2 separate regions of the Homo sapiens genome follow, and region 1 is linked to region 2. The links are contacts of gene promoters, found by promoter capture Hi-C in blood cells and fetal thymus (Javierre and others, 2016). All regions are on one chromosome and are shown on one strand. Each heading gives the region's core, a stretch centred on a gene start or on the middle of the fragment in contact. The rest is flanking DNA. Distances are from core to core; before and after follow the strand shown.

Region 1 (6,486 bases), core at 3,758-6,257, 1.3 Mb before region 2:
ATAACTTTATAACTCCCCCAAATTATACTTCAGTATTTAACATGGTAGTTTCAAAAAATAAATATTCAAGGCCCCAGTTTTAAATTTTCCTCCAATGTAATCCACAAAGTTGATAATACATGTTAGGAGCACTACTCTAAAATAAATGTAGCTTTCTTTTAAAATTACTTGTTGCAATAGAGATCACATTCTATTCCAAATTCTGATAAGGAATCTGTTTTTTTGGTAATACAACAAAAATTTGGGATGAGTCAGTCCTTGGAAAATCTTAATAGTAGTCACTGAACGAAGTCAATCATTCCGAGAGCCACAAACACTCAAAAATTACTGCTAGCATTGACAAGTTCTTGTGTTTTTTGATGGTTATTGCTTTAGTTGGCAATATCTGAATACAAGACAAAAGAACATCTCCCATTAAGCCTTATGTTAAATATTACAAAACTTATACAGAAGATAGACTCATAGAGGCTATAAAGCTGATGTCTTAAGTAACTCACCCATGAAATGGGTGCAGGTTTTTTAAAGGCTATCCAATAATCTTTTTACTCTAAAAATAAATGCCCCTACTTTTCAGTGTTCCCATTCTTCAACAGGAGACTCGAGCAGCTTAACAGTTTTGCTATAAAAACAAACCATTCTTCTTAACAAACCAAGAATATAAAAGGAAACCCAATAAAGGACGTACTTTTCACAGTTAACAATAAATAAAAGTGCAATAAGTGTTCAAGTAGGGCATGTAGTATAAAAACTACACATGAGTATTTAGCATAGGTCATCTTTTAAAGGCTCTCCGAGGGTCCCTGCCATTACTTATTGTGGTCATCACTGTTTGATTACTAGCTGTTCCTTGTAGTTGTGGATTTATAAGTCCCCGGCCATTGCTTCTGCCAGCATGTGAAAACTGGTGTTCCCTTGATTCAGGGCCAGTGTGAACACCATTTCCTAAAAAAGAATACAAAAATTCATCACTATTTTCAGAGGTAGTCTATAGAAGTAGAACTATCTTAAGTGCCAACATGTTATTAATGCTTAAAAATATTAAAGCACACACTTTTATTTTTATACAGAAAAAAAAAACAATGTGGGCTCTAAGTTTTTCCAAATGTATTGCTATAAATATGCTAACTTGATGCTGTATTAATAGAGAGAAAAAAGCCAACTTGGGCATCAAAATTAGAAATTAATAGAGTAAAAAAATGCATTGCCTACACTATAAAAGAAAAAGAAAGGGCAAAATAGTGAATATTGGAATTTGGCTCAAATATGATTAATATCTCAAAACAGACAATGTTATTCTAACTTTTTAAAGGCAAAGGCAGCGTTTCCCACAATGTGATCAGCAATGCCAAGACATGTAGCCTTCGAGTCAAATAAAACATGAGCTGGCCAGGTTCAGTGGCTCACGCCTGTATGTAATCCCAGCACTTTAGGACGCCGAGGCAGGTGGATCATTTGAGGTCAGGAGTTCGAGACTAGCCTGGCCCATATGGTGAAATCCCATCTCTATTAAAAATATAAAAATTAGCTGGGTGGTAGTGGTGCACATCTGTAATCCCAGCTACTTGGGAGGCTGAGGCAGGAGAATCACTTGAGCCTGCGAGGTGGAGGTTGCGATGAGCCAAGATCACGCCACTGCACTCCAGTCTGGGCAACAGCGTAAGACCCTGTCTCAAAAACAAAACAAAACCAAAACATGAGCCATCCTAATGAACTCTAATCACAAAAGACTGACTTTTCCTCATATATTTAAGAAAAAAGACTTCAGAAGACCTTTAACAGAGCTACAAGGATCATGAACATGATGTCTGGGGGTCATGTTAAATGACATCTGAGGGTCACTAGCCTTTAAACGGCTCAGCTCATCTTTTAAAGCAGCAGCTACTTGTATGTGAAAAATTAAGGTGAACTATGACTCTAAAGATAAAACGCTTTCAGTGCACCAAAATAACCAGTAATTCTGCATCTACTATAAGTAATCACTAGATTATAGAAATTTTATAGGAATCAATAAAAAAAAAATAGCATGGTATCTCTTCACGGACATCACAAAAACTTAGAATTCTCAATAAACTGGCTTAAGTTTATCAACTTTCTAGAAAATCAGCCCTTTGGGGATTCCCTGTTTACTGGTAGTTCACCTTTATCACTAATTTATGCCTAAAGACGTTGCTTTTCACGTGAATCTTTACAGCTCTCTTCATTCTTATACCTGATCACAAATGAAACACACAAACAAAATCTTACCCACTGGTCCAAATGTACCTGTACCCATATTACTATTCATGGAATTATTCTTCTGTTCACTCTGTGCCTAAAAAAAAGTTTTTAATTTAACCAAACGAGAATAAAAACACAATTATATTATTACAACATTATTATATCCTTTCTTTTTTAAAGTTTTGGGTTTGGCTTTTTTTTTTTTTTTAATTAACAAATTTTTTAAAGATTTTTCCTAGGTCATTAAAGGTTATAATGTTAAGAAACGTTTCCCAAACCTTTCAGAGCTCTGTTACATCCTATTTCCTGATAATTACTCAGCACACCACAAAGTGCAAAATGGCACATATATCTAGTAGATGACACCTCAGATACATATCCTCACAAAACATACAATAAAAATTAAGTATCCTTTTAAAAATTATCTTCTTTATACTAAGTATCAACAGGGCTAGCCTAATCATAGAATTATAACACAGTCAAAATTAGCCTAATCATAAAAGTATACTACACAATTACCCCTTTGTTCTGCTGTCCTCGATAATCTGGGTTGGGTTCACTGAAATTTGGCACTTCTGAATAAACCATACAAAATCTGAAAGAAAATAAAGAAAAAATTAAATGACTTCTGAAATAAAGTCCTCAACCCTTCTTTATGTAACATCTCTAACTTTTAGGAATGAACTTATGTGTCAAACAAATTAATAGCAACAAACTAACTCTTCATTTACAACAAAAACTTCCCAAATGATTATGTCCCATAAAACATCAAATATTTGACTGTCTACAAGATATATAACATTCTATTTTGTATTTAAATTCTTCTTTAGTGCTGAAAAAAAAATCACATCAAAAATCAAGGACACAAAAACATCTCTGTCCTGTTTTTCCACAAAAGCTGATCAAAGGAAAAATAACATGAGAGTGAACCATGTTTAGGGTTCCAGGGTGGTTTCTCCAGCAGTGGTAATGGATTTGCACCGATCCATTCACCCACTCCCATTCAGTCCCTCTTTTGATCGATCACTGTGGATCTGCAAAGATAATCATTTAGGGTTAAGAGTGGTTTCTAGGCAATAAATAATAACAACAGGCTACATAGCCACCAGTTTATCCAAGTGCTTCCTGTAAGTTGACCATATAATGTGTACTAACATTACAAAGAAGCATTTTATTACTCCTCACCATACTGAAGACAAATCAGAACCAGTTTTGGTAAATCCTCGACTGACCCTGACAAAGAGCAGTCATTAAGAAATGAGTGACCTCTAACGGTTTTTCACGTAACTGACCTCCATTATTATCAACACCTCTGTATGAATACATGAAGGTCAGGACAGAATCCTGAACCTTTCAGTAACAGACACTAAGACCTTTCATAACACATAACTCTATTAATGCTACTCTAAGTGAATCCTAACTTCCCTTCTAACAAAGGCAAAGCGTTAAGTGTTTCTGATCTTTAAAAGCTAGCATGATCATTTCTTTTCCTTCATTATTAACCACAGGTTCTCCAAATAAGCATCTTATTCCCTCAGTGGCAAACAGTTTTCCTTTTTTATCTGGTGCCATTTGTGGCTTCTCTTTTTAAATATCTTCCAATTTGACAGGCATTAAGTAGATGGCAGAGCATTAACCAAACAGAATGGACTGATGATTTGGCTCATTGCCTGTACCATACTTTATGAATACAACCCAATGTCTAGGCTAACATGGAGGCTGAATTACCTTACACCCCTAGAGAGGATGGCTCCTCCAGGTCAGGGTGGAGATCATTACCAGGGTAGTAGTGTATGGAATCTCGCATTGCGGCTGCCTGCACCGCACCTAGACTGTGGATAAATAGAGGACTTCAGTTTTCGTTGCTGCAAGTCCTTTTTAACATGAGTACATATTCACCCATAACCATAGAAAAAGAAAATTTAAACTTATGGCCTGAAACTTGGTGAATCACTAGCTTCGTATATGGTGAATCACTACAAAAGAGAATCTACTTCAAATGGCTCTTGTGACACCTAAAAAATGCACATTTCTAAAACCTACAGAAATGCTTCCACTAGGGCTGGTCTCAACTGCAGCTTCTTCTACTGCTCTTTGCCAGGAAAAATTGACACTTTTAACCACAGAAAACAGTACTGACAAGTGTTAAATTTGTATACACGAAGTTATTTTTTCAATTAAGCTACCAAAGACATTCAGTTTACTAGTCAAAAAAGCCAAAGAGGTTTACAATTCATACCTACCAATCATTCCGTAGATATTATTTATAATATATGCAATTATACAAAATGCATTTTAATACTTACTCCCCAATTTTTTGAAGTTCACCACCCCTTCCAGTATAAAGTGTCAGACATCCTTTCCACATGGATGCATACCTAGAGAGAAAAGAAACATTAATTCTTTAGAAATATATTTATTTTCTTCTATTTAAATCAAGTAAATCTTCACACTATATATTTTTTGTATTAAGGTAGAAGTGAGGATCAAGCCCTCTCTATCCACCATAGTAAATCAAATACAATAAATCTAACTTTGATAACTTGCTATTTACAAAAGAATACAAAAATTCTGTCGAATTTTGACATAATTATCTAAATCATAACAAATTCTGGAAAATAAGTCTTTTCGCAAAGCCAGTATTATTATACCCAATGATCACATCTTTAGTCAATTAACAAAACAAAAGCTTTTAATTGCAGAAATTTAAACAGAAACTATTTTTCAGCCACAAGATATGTAAAATCATCCTAATGTTTCATTTACAGTCTAGTCAAATAATGATATAACAGTTTTCCTTCTGCCTCCATAAAAGACACAGGATTCCTAAGCTACCGAAGATCTGGTAGAATTTCAAAGTGCTAAAAAAAACACTAAGGTCACAAAGCTTCACCTATCTGCCTTTCCAAACATGTGATTTTTAATACCATGCTGGGTTTGTAGTAAACAAACTGGCAAATGTTTACTCCGAACAATTTTGAAAGCAGACAGCATCACTACATAAAATAATCCTAGATATCTAAGAAAAAGGTAAATTAATATTATAAAATCAATCCAAGGTTTGGTTCTCAATGGTTCTCTGTACAACTACTATGGTAACTTCATGACTTTAACTTACTATACAGTTCTCTTTACTTTAATTAAAGGGTTATTTATTAAAGACACCATTCACCACTCTTAAGTTATACAAAGAGTGGCTTAGGATACAGTGCATTAACATTTCACCTTACTAAAATAAAAATTAACCCATATTTTGAGAAAAAATTTGGTTACAATTAAAATATTTAACATTCACTTTAAGAAATGAGAACACTGAGGTAAGTTTTCAGGGTATTCTGATAAACATGTTGATATTTGAACCATTATTTAGATGTTAGGTATGTTTTTCTTCAAAAGCTACTTTTCTTAGATTCAACCAGAATTTAAGGGCCTTAGAATGAGCCAGACTCCAAGCTGAGTGTGTTGTTTTGGTAAATAAGGTATAATTATTCCCATTTCACAGAAGAGGAAGCTGAAGTATGAGGTGTAGTAACTTCTCAAGGTCATACTGAAGTAGTAAATAGAGTTTCTATAGTTTTTAATTTTCGTTTAAATTGTACTCCCAGGTAATTGTTCCCCTTAAAATTCTATAGTACCTAACTAATAAGTTTAATTTTCCAATAATTTTTTTGATGGAAACACCTATGACTGTCACTACAGAACATGAAATACTTGAAATAAGATGCCGTTTTTAGCGTAAAAAATACTTTCAATCATTGGGTGAAAAATATTTGGGGAGCCAAAAACTCCAATTATACTAATCAATCCTCACCATACTTCCCTAAGAAGGAATTCTCTTTTGTTTTTTAAAGATGTGGAAGTTTAAATTACTGTCATGAGTCAGTGTATGAGAAGAAAATGTCTAAGTCCTGACTCTCACTTCCTGCTTTGATGACACTTTACCTCACTTCCTGAAGATGTTGTAAGCCTGCAAGGTAACACCAAGGAGCTCTAAGCTCCTACTCTCAGTGCTTTCCAATACTTCTAAGATTCTACTTATTAGGCCAACATCAATCTCCACCACTTTCCCTGCAGTTAATGATAAATTATTACAATTTTATTGATCTCAAAAGCTTCCAAATTCTGTTTTTAAGATCCTTTTCTGCCCTTTTATCTTCCTAAGATAAAAATTTGGTAAATTTCTAAAAGCAATCTATTTTTTAAAAAAAAAGTTCTAGTATTTTTTAAAGCCACCTATCCGCCAACTGACTCTTTTGGATGAAGGTATTG
Region 2 (7,002 bases), core at 298-2,797:
CAATCCTAAATTTTACTTACACCTCGTGATAAATACAAGCCATCTGACTATCACTAAACAGCTGACCATATCCTGCACCTCTGCTAGCAGCTTGACGTGTCAAAAGCCAAGCTTCCCAAAGAGGAGGATCCTATCCTTTTACTTAACAAGGCTAAAACAGATGCATACACTTTTAGCTGGCTAGTGCCCACATCTTGGGGAAAGGACCTACCAAGTACACATCTCCTTTTATTACATATTTTAGTCAACTGTATGTCCACCCACCCTTCACATTCATCTATACTTAAGAGGTTAGATTTCTAGAAAATCATGGACTTCTAGAAGGATTAGGGGAAATTTTGGCCACTATAATATCCAACCATCCTCTTTTCCATGTGAGAAAACTGGGGCTCAGGAAGATGTGACATGCCCAAGCACACACATCTATTTAAATACCAGTTGGGATTAGAACCCCAACTCTTTAAGTCTTTTGCACACTAATAAGCAAGGTATTATATGTTCCAGTAGTTCTGTGAGGTGCTTATTCAATCTTTTTGGGATGAAAAGAAACGTCCGTGGTTGCGAATGCATAAAGGTAATTAACCCACCTGTCTGTCCATGTGGGGATGGGATTAACGAGGGGGAAAGTTGCGTTTGTATTTTTCCACCATCTTACCTAAATTTGCAGGAAAATTGCTCTATGGGCAATAAATATGACCCAGAAAGACTAGCAACCCCCAGTAGTATCTCAAAAGGGCTCCAGAGACATGTTAGACCAAGTGGAAGTAAAGCACGAGGTGGGGGATGTCTGCTAGGATGGTGGCTGGCAGAGCAGAGGTATTTTTTTTTCCGTATTTATTAACCTGGGAGGGCAGACGTTGTCAATTTCCTCCTCCTGCCACACAAGTGGCCGCGTCCTTGTCACTGGGGCTGTGTGGAGGTTCTCACCTCCTCCTTTTTCCCAGGGATGTTTATGGCGAGGGCGCGGGTCGGCCCGGGCGGAGGAGGACCCGGGCATCGGCGCTCACCCTCCGTCCCCACCCGCGGCAGCAGCTGTGGGCGCCCGGCGAGGGCTCCCTGGGCAGCGCCTTTGTTTTCCCGACTCCAGTTACGTTTGCGGAAGTGCTGCCAGCACGGGGCGCGCTGGGGGCGCAGGCGGCAGCCTCCCCCAGCACCCCACAAAGATGACACCCGACACGGAAGCCGGGGGAGGGAGGGAGGGAGGGAGCGGCGGGCGAGCGAGGCCCGAGCGGAGACAGCGGCGCACGCTGGGCTCCGAGCCCCGGCCCCGAAGCCCCTTTCCCGGCAGCAGGTGTGCGCGGCTGAGGTGCCTACCCGCCCTCCGGCTGGGCCCGTGCGGGGCGGGGGAGGCCAGGGCGGGTCTGCGAGCCCCTTCTCCGCAAGCCGGGCCCGACTCACCTGCTGCGGCGGCGGCAGCGCTCAGCTGCGCGGGGCGCGGGGAGCCCTGTCCCCGGAGCACGGGGCGGCGGCTCGGGGCGCCGGGGCGGCGGCTGTCGGGGCAGCGCGCACCATCCCGGGCTGCTCGCGCGCTCCTCCGGGGCTGCGACGGGCTGGGCGGGGCGCGGCGAGGCGAGGCGAGGGATGCGGACCGGGTGGGGCCACGGAGGACGGAGGCGGAGGGCCCAGCGCTCCCGCCGGCGCGACCTTCTCTCCCGCTGCGGCTCCTCCTCCTCCCCGGCCCCGGCCTCACAGTCGCCGCCGCCGGTCACTACCGGCTGGACCCGTTTCAGGGCCGGGCGCTGAGGACCGGCCGCCAGGTGCAGCGCTCCGCCTCCTGCGGCGGCGGCGGATGCGTCGACTGCCCGCTCCCGGCCTCCAGCCCGCCCCGGCGGCCCGGAGGGACACCTGAACCCAGCCGGGCCCGGGGAGCACGCTGAGGAGGCGAAAGCACTGGGCGAGGCTCCATCCCTACCGCACCCTCCACCCCCCCGCACCCCCAAGCGACTTCCGCTGAGCCCCCAGGCAATGAGTGCGGGCCAGGAAATGTGGGGGAAAATGTACTAACATCCCTTATTCCTTGAGCGCCTTTTAAGTGGCACACACAATGCTAATGCTGTCAGTGCGTTATCTCCGCGTCTGTCCCAGGTTGACCCGGGAGGGAGGAGCCGGCGGGGTGCGGGAGACAAACGATCTGTGAGTTTCGGGGCTCACCAAGAAGGGGGAACACTGAGACGAAGGCACCCTTTTTCAGGAAGCTGCTACTGGCATCTTGCTGAAAAGCCAACCGTGTGTGTCGCACTAAGAATATAATTAAAGTTGTATTTCTAGTTAAACACGCAGAGAGTTGGGGGAGAGTGGAGTATTCACTTGGCAAGTATGTCTGTGTGCCTGTGATGGGCTTTGGGGGATGCCACATCCTGTTCTTAAGGAGTTTATTGTCTTGTTCTGGCAACAACGACAAGAGTGACAATGGTAGCTAACGGCAACAACGACAAGAGTGACAATGGTAGCTAACGCTTATAAACATCGATTATGTACGGGGCACTGTGTAGGTACTCTTTGAGCCTTATAACCCTATAGGTGTAGGAAACGTTATTCCCATTTTACAACTGAGGAAAGCCGAGGCTGAAAGTTAATGTGACCCATCCAAAGTTACTAAACAGCGAAAGGGAAAGCAGGCTTCTTTTGTCTCCAGGCTTTAAGCTCTTAACCGTGAAATCATACTGGTAAGAATTTGATAGGCCCTGAAGTTTCTGAATTTTGAGTCCCTCTTTAGGAAGAATAAAACAATTACAAATACGAAGTTTCTAGGGCCCCTTCCTGAGCTTATGAAGGGTCTCTGAAGCTTAAACTATAGTAGCCTCATGCTAAATCCACTTTCAATATTGACGTAGATATTCAATCATTTCTTTCTCCAGGCATTTCTTTCTCCTGTCAGGAACACGAGACACTGGTCCCCTCCTTGAAACTCTTCCCTTCTCTTCTTTTGGTGCTCCGTAAGTGTTGGATTTTCCTCCTTGAAACTCTCCCCTCCTCTGCCTTCTGTGACCCACAAGTCTTGGGTTTTCCTCTTCCTCTCTGGCCACTCCCCTTTGCTCCACTTGAGTTTTAGTTTTCCTTGGGTTTTGTTCTAGGCTTTCCTTTCTTCTGATTCTGTTTGTTTCTGCGAATTCTCTCACTCCTTGGCTTCAATCACAGAATATTTGAGGGTGCTCCAAAAGCCCTCTCTCGGGGTCAGCTTTTCTCCTGAGGGCCAGATCCTTATGGCCAGTTGTCCAGTGGGATGTGTCACAGGCACCCCAACCTCACTAAGTGCCACGTCAATGTTTCTTTACCTTCTGTTCTTCCCCTACTCGTTTTTTTTTTTTAAGATGGAGTCTCACTCTGTCGCCCAGGCCGGATTGCAGTGGCGTGATCTCAGCTCACTGCAACCTCTGCCTCCCGGGTTCAAGTGATTCTCCTACCTCAGCCTCCTGAATAGCTGGGATTACAGGCATGTGCCACCATGTCTGGCTAATTTTTGTATTTTTAGTAGAGATGGGGTCTCACCGTGTTGGCCAAGCTGGTCTCAAACTCCTGACCTCAAATGATCCCCCCACTTCAGCCTCCCAAAGTACTGGGATTACAGGTGTGAGCCACTGCACCCGGCCCCTCATTCACTCTTGCTTCTGGGTTCCCAGACTCTGGGGTCCCAAACAGCCATCCACCCAGTTGTACAAGGCCCTTCTTCTCAATGCTCCTTTCACCCTTATACCCATGCCCAGTGTATTAGTTACCTATTGCTGCTGTAACAAGTTATCGTAAACTTTGTGGATTAAAACACACATTTATTATCTTACGATTCTGGAGGTCAAGAGTCCAAAATGGGTTTTAGTGAACTAAAACCAAGGTGACTACAAGGCTGTATTCTTTCTGTAGGCTGTAGAGAATAACCCATTTCTTTTACCTTTTCCACTTCTAGGGGCTGCTCACATACTTTGGCTCATGGACCCTTCCTCCATCTTCAAAGCACACCACTCTAACCTCAGCCACAATCCTCACATTGCCTTTTCTGACTCTGACCCTCATTACATTGGGTTCACCTTCATCATCTAGCGTAATCTCCTCCTTTCAAGAATCTTAATCCCATCATCAAAGTCCCTTTTACCATGAAGCATATTCACAGGCTCCTGGGATTGAGACATGGACATCTACAGCGGGCCATGACTCTGTCTATGACATCCAGTCAGATGCCAAACTCTTGATTCTACCTTTTCAAATATCTCTAGCACCTGTCCTCTTCTCTCCATCCCTGTGCTATCCTAATCTCTGTTATCTCTCCTTTGCCTGCAAAATTTCTCTGGTCTCTCTGCCTCAAAATGTTCTCTCATCCAATCAACTTTTCACTTTGCCACCAAAGTAATCTGTTTTCTTTTCTTTTCTTTTCGACAGGATCTTGCTCTGTCACTCAGGCTGGAGTGCAGTGGTGTGATCATAGCTTACTGTAACCTCGAACTCCTGGGCTCAAGGGATCCTCACACCTCAGCCTCCCAGGTAGCTGGGACTACAGGTGCATACCACCATACCCAGCCAATTTTTAATTTTTTTTGTACAGGTGGAGTCTCACTATGTTTTAGGAGAGGAGCAATGTTGGCTGGTTGCACAGCTAGGAGGTACAATACAATGTGAAGGGTGCCTCATGGTGTTGCACAATCCTATGAGACAGCAAAGAAATTACATGGTAAGGTGTTTGTAAAGATTCTTTTGGTGTTGGGCGTAGTGGCTCATGCGTGTAATCCCAACACTTTGGGAGGCCAAGGTGGGCGAATCACTTGAGCCCAGGAGTTTGAGACTAACCTGGGCAACATGGCAAACCTCATCTCTCAAAAAGTACAAAGATTAGCCAGGTGTGGTGGCATGCCTATAGTCCCAGCTACTAGGGAGGCTAAGGTAGGAAGATTGACAGAGCCCGAGAGGTCAATCTCCCAACCTTAGCAGTGAGCCATGATTACACCTCTGTACCCCAACCTGGGTGACAGAGTGAGACCCTGTCTCAAAGAAAAAAAAAAAAAAGTAACTGTAACCAGTAGCAAGGAGAAAGGTTAACAGTGGCATGGACCACAGTGGTAGTGGCTGGGATGGAGAGAAACAGATAGATTTGAGAGTTTGGGGAAGTATATGAGCATACTTGGTGATATGTTGCATGTGGGAGGCAAGGGAAAGGAGGTGTTAAGAATGACTCACAGGTTTCTGGCTTGAGCAACTAGGGAAGATTGTGATAACCTTTACTGAGAGGGAGGAGACTGTGGGAGGAGCAGGCTGGAAGGAAAAAAGGAAGAATTCACATTTGACTCAGTGAGTTTGAGATGCTTGTGAGCCTTGCAGGTGGAGCTGTGAAGTAGGCAATTAAACTTGAGTCCACAGCCCAGAAGAAAGGGCTGGATTTGGCAGTCATCAGTATTGAGGTACTATTTACAGTCATTGGACTGAAGGGGATTACTCAGGAAGAGAATAGACTCAGAGAGCCCAGAGAAGGGCCAACATTTACCAGTTGGTATAGGAGAGAAAACCAGGAAGGATCAGTCAGAAGTAGAAGGCAATTCAGGAGGATGTTGTCACTGAAGACTATAGAAGAGTTGTTTCAAGCAGGTGTAAGTGGTTTGCACTCTCTCTCTCCTCCATATCCTAGACAAAGCATTATGTCCTCCATAGACTGGCTTTATCGCCCCTCGGTGGCTTCGTTTACCATGTGCCTTCTCTATCATGGCATCTATCATATACTATTGTAATCATTTGTTTAACTTCTATGCTAGATTGCAAGCTCCTTAAAGACAGGGGGAAACACTATGTTGTTCAACATTTGTATTATTTAGCATGGACAGTAGTCCATTGGAACAGCCCACATACAGTGGTTTAAATTTTTTTAAAAAGTATGATTTTCCCTCATATAAAAGTTTAGGTAAACATATGTAACAAACCTGCACATCCTGCACATGTACCCTGGAACTTAAAAAATCATAAAATTAAAAAGTTTAGGTAAATAAGTGAGCCCATGGTGTTGGGACTCGAGATTTATGCTCTTTTGATCTTGTTGCTCTGTCATCAAAACCCAACATGGCTGCCCCAACTCTTACTCTCATGTGCACATTCCAGCCATTGCAAAAGGGAAAAGGGGAAGGGGAAGGCATTTTCCTTTCTTTTAAGAATATGGGCCGGGCGCAGTGGCTCATGCTTGTAATCCCAGCACTTTGGGAGGCCGAGACGGGTGGATCACCTGAGGTCAGGGGTTCAAGACCAGCCTGGCCAACGTGGTGAAAACCCGTCTCTACTAAAAATACAAAAAATTAGCCAAGCATGGTGCAATTGCCTGTAATCCCAGCTACTTGGGAGGCTGAGGCAGGAGAATCACTTGAACGCAGCAGGTGGAGGTTGCAATGAGCTGAGATCGCACCACTGCACTCTAGCCTTGGCAACAAGAGCGAAACTCCTTCTCAAAAAAAAAAAAAGAAGAAGAAAAAGAACATGACCAGAAGTTGTACATATGTACATATTACTCGTTTAAATTCCAGTAGCAGAACTTGCTCATATGACCACATCTATCTGCAAGGAAAGCTGAGAAATCTAGTCTTTAACTCAGTATCCATGTACACAGATAAAAATTCTATGACTGTGAAAGAAGAGAACAGACACTGGGTGCAACCAGCAGCCCTGATATACCATTGTAACTGTATCATAGAGCCTGACTGTTGGAATATGCTTGTAGAGCATAGAGAAAGGCAAGGAAGGATAAACACCCCACTCTTGACATTAATTACCTTGCGGGGAGGAAATGGAAGGGGCATGGAAGGAGAGTTATAAATTATTTGTTGACTGAATGGATGATAATAAATGGATAAATCCAATGGTGACAGTAGTGATGAGGTGAATTCTTTTTAGCTCCCTCTCCCACCCTCCCTCCTCAGCATTGGCTTATGAAGGAAGAGGGACTTTCACTAGACCAAAAAGATGAGTTATGTAAACAGAAGGAAAGAAGGCTAATTTATTTAAATCTTTTATTCTGATATCTTTTTTGCTTAATTCTCT

What was found. Contacts are between HindIII fragments. The CHiCAGO score rates a contact against its expected background, and 5 or more counts as called.
Region 1: a fragment that was not itself captured here is called in contact with the fragment with the promoter of MFSD6 in region 2 in 2 of 17 cell types (fetal thymus and total CD8 T cells); the score reaches 5.1 in fetal thymus.

Annotation. Positions count from the first base shown.
Region 1 is chr2:191,680,055-191,686,540 of GRCh38, reverse strand. It overlaps NABP1 (nucleic acid binding protein 1), which reads right to left. Exons shown (of 6, transcript NM_001031716.5): 3 at 4,524-4,595; 4 at 2,737-2,812; 5 at 2,245-2,311; 6 at 1-942. The coding sequence ends at 773. Among named protein-coding and RNA genes, the nearest start is that of NABP1, 5.2 kb to the right of the region's middle. RefSeq lists an enhancer at 6,035-6,486. The HindIII fragment of the contact is 198 bases long and covers 4,909-5,106 here.
Region 2 is chr2:190,402,900-190,409,901 of GRCh38, reverse strand. MFSD6 (major facilitator superfamily domain containing 6) reads right to left here and starts at 1,547. Exons shown (of 8, transcript NM_017694.4): 1 at 1,399-1,547. RefSeq lists a silencer at 927-1,966 and an enhancer at 2,227-2,276. The HindIII fragment of the contact is 2,674 bases long and covers 114-2,787 here.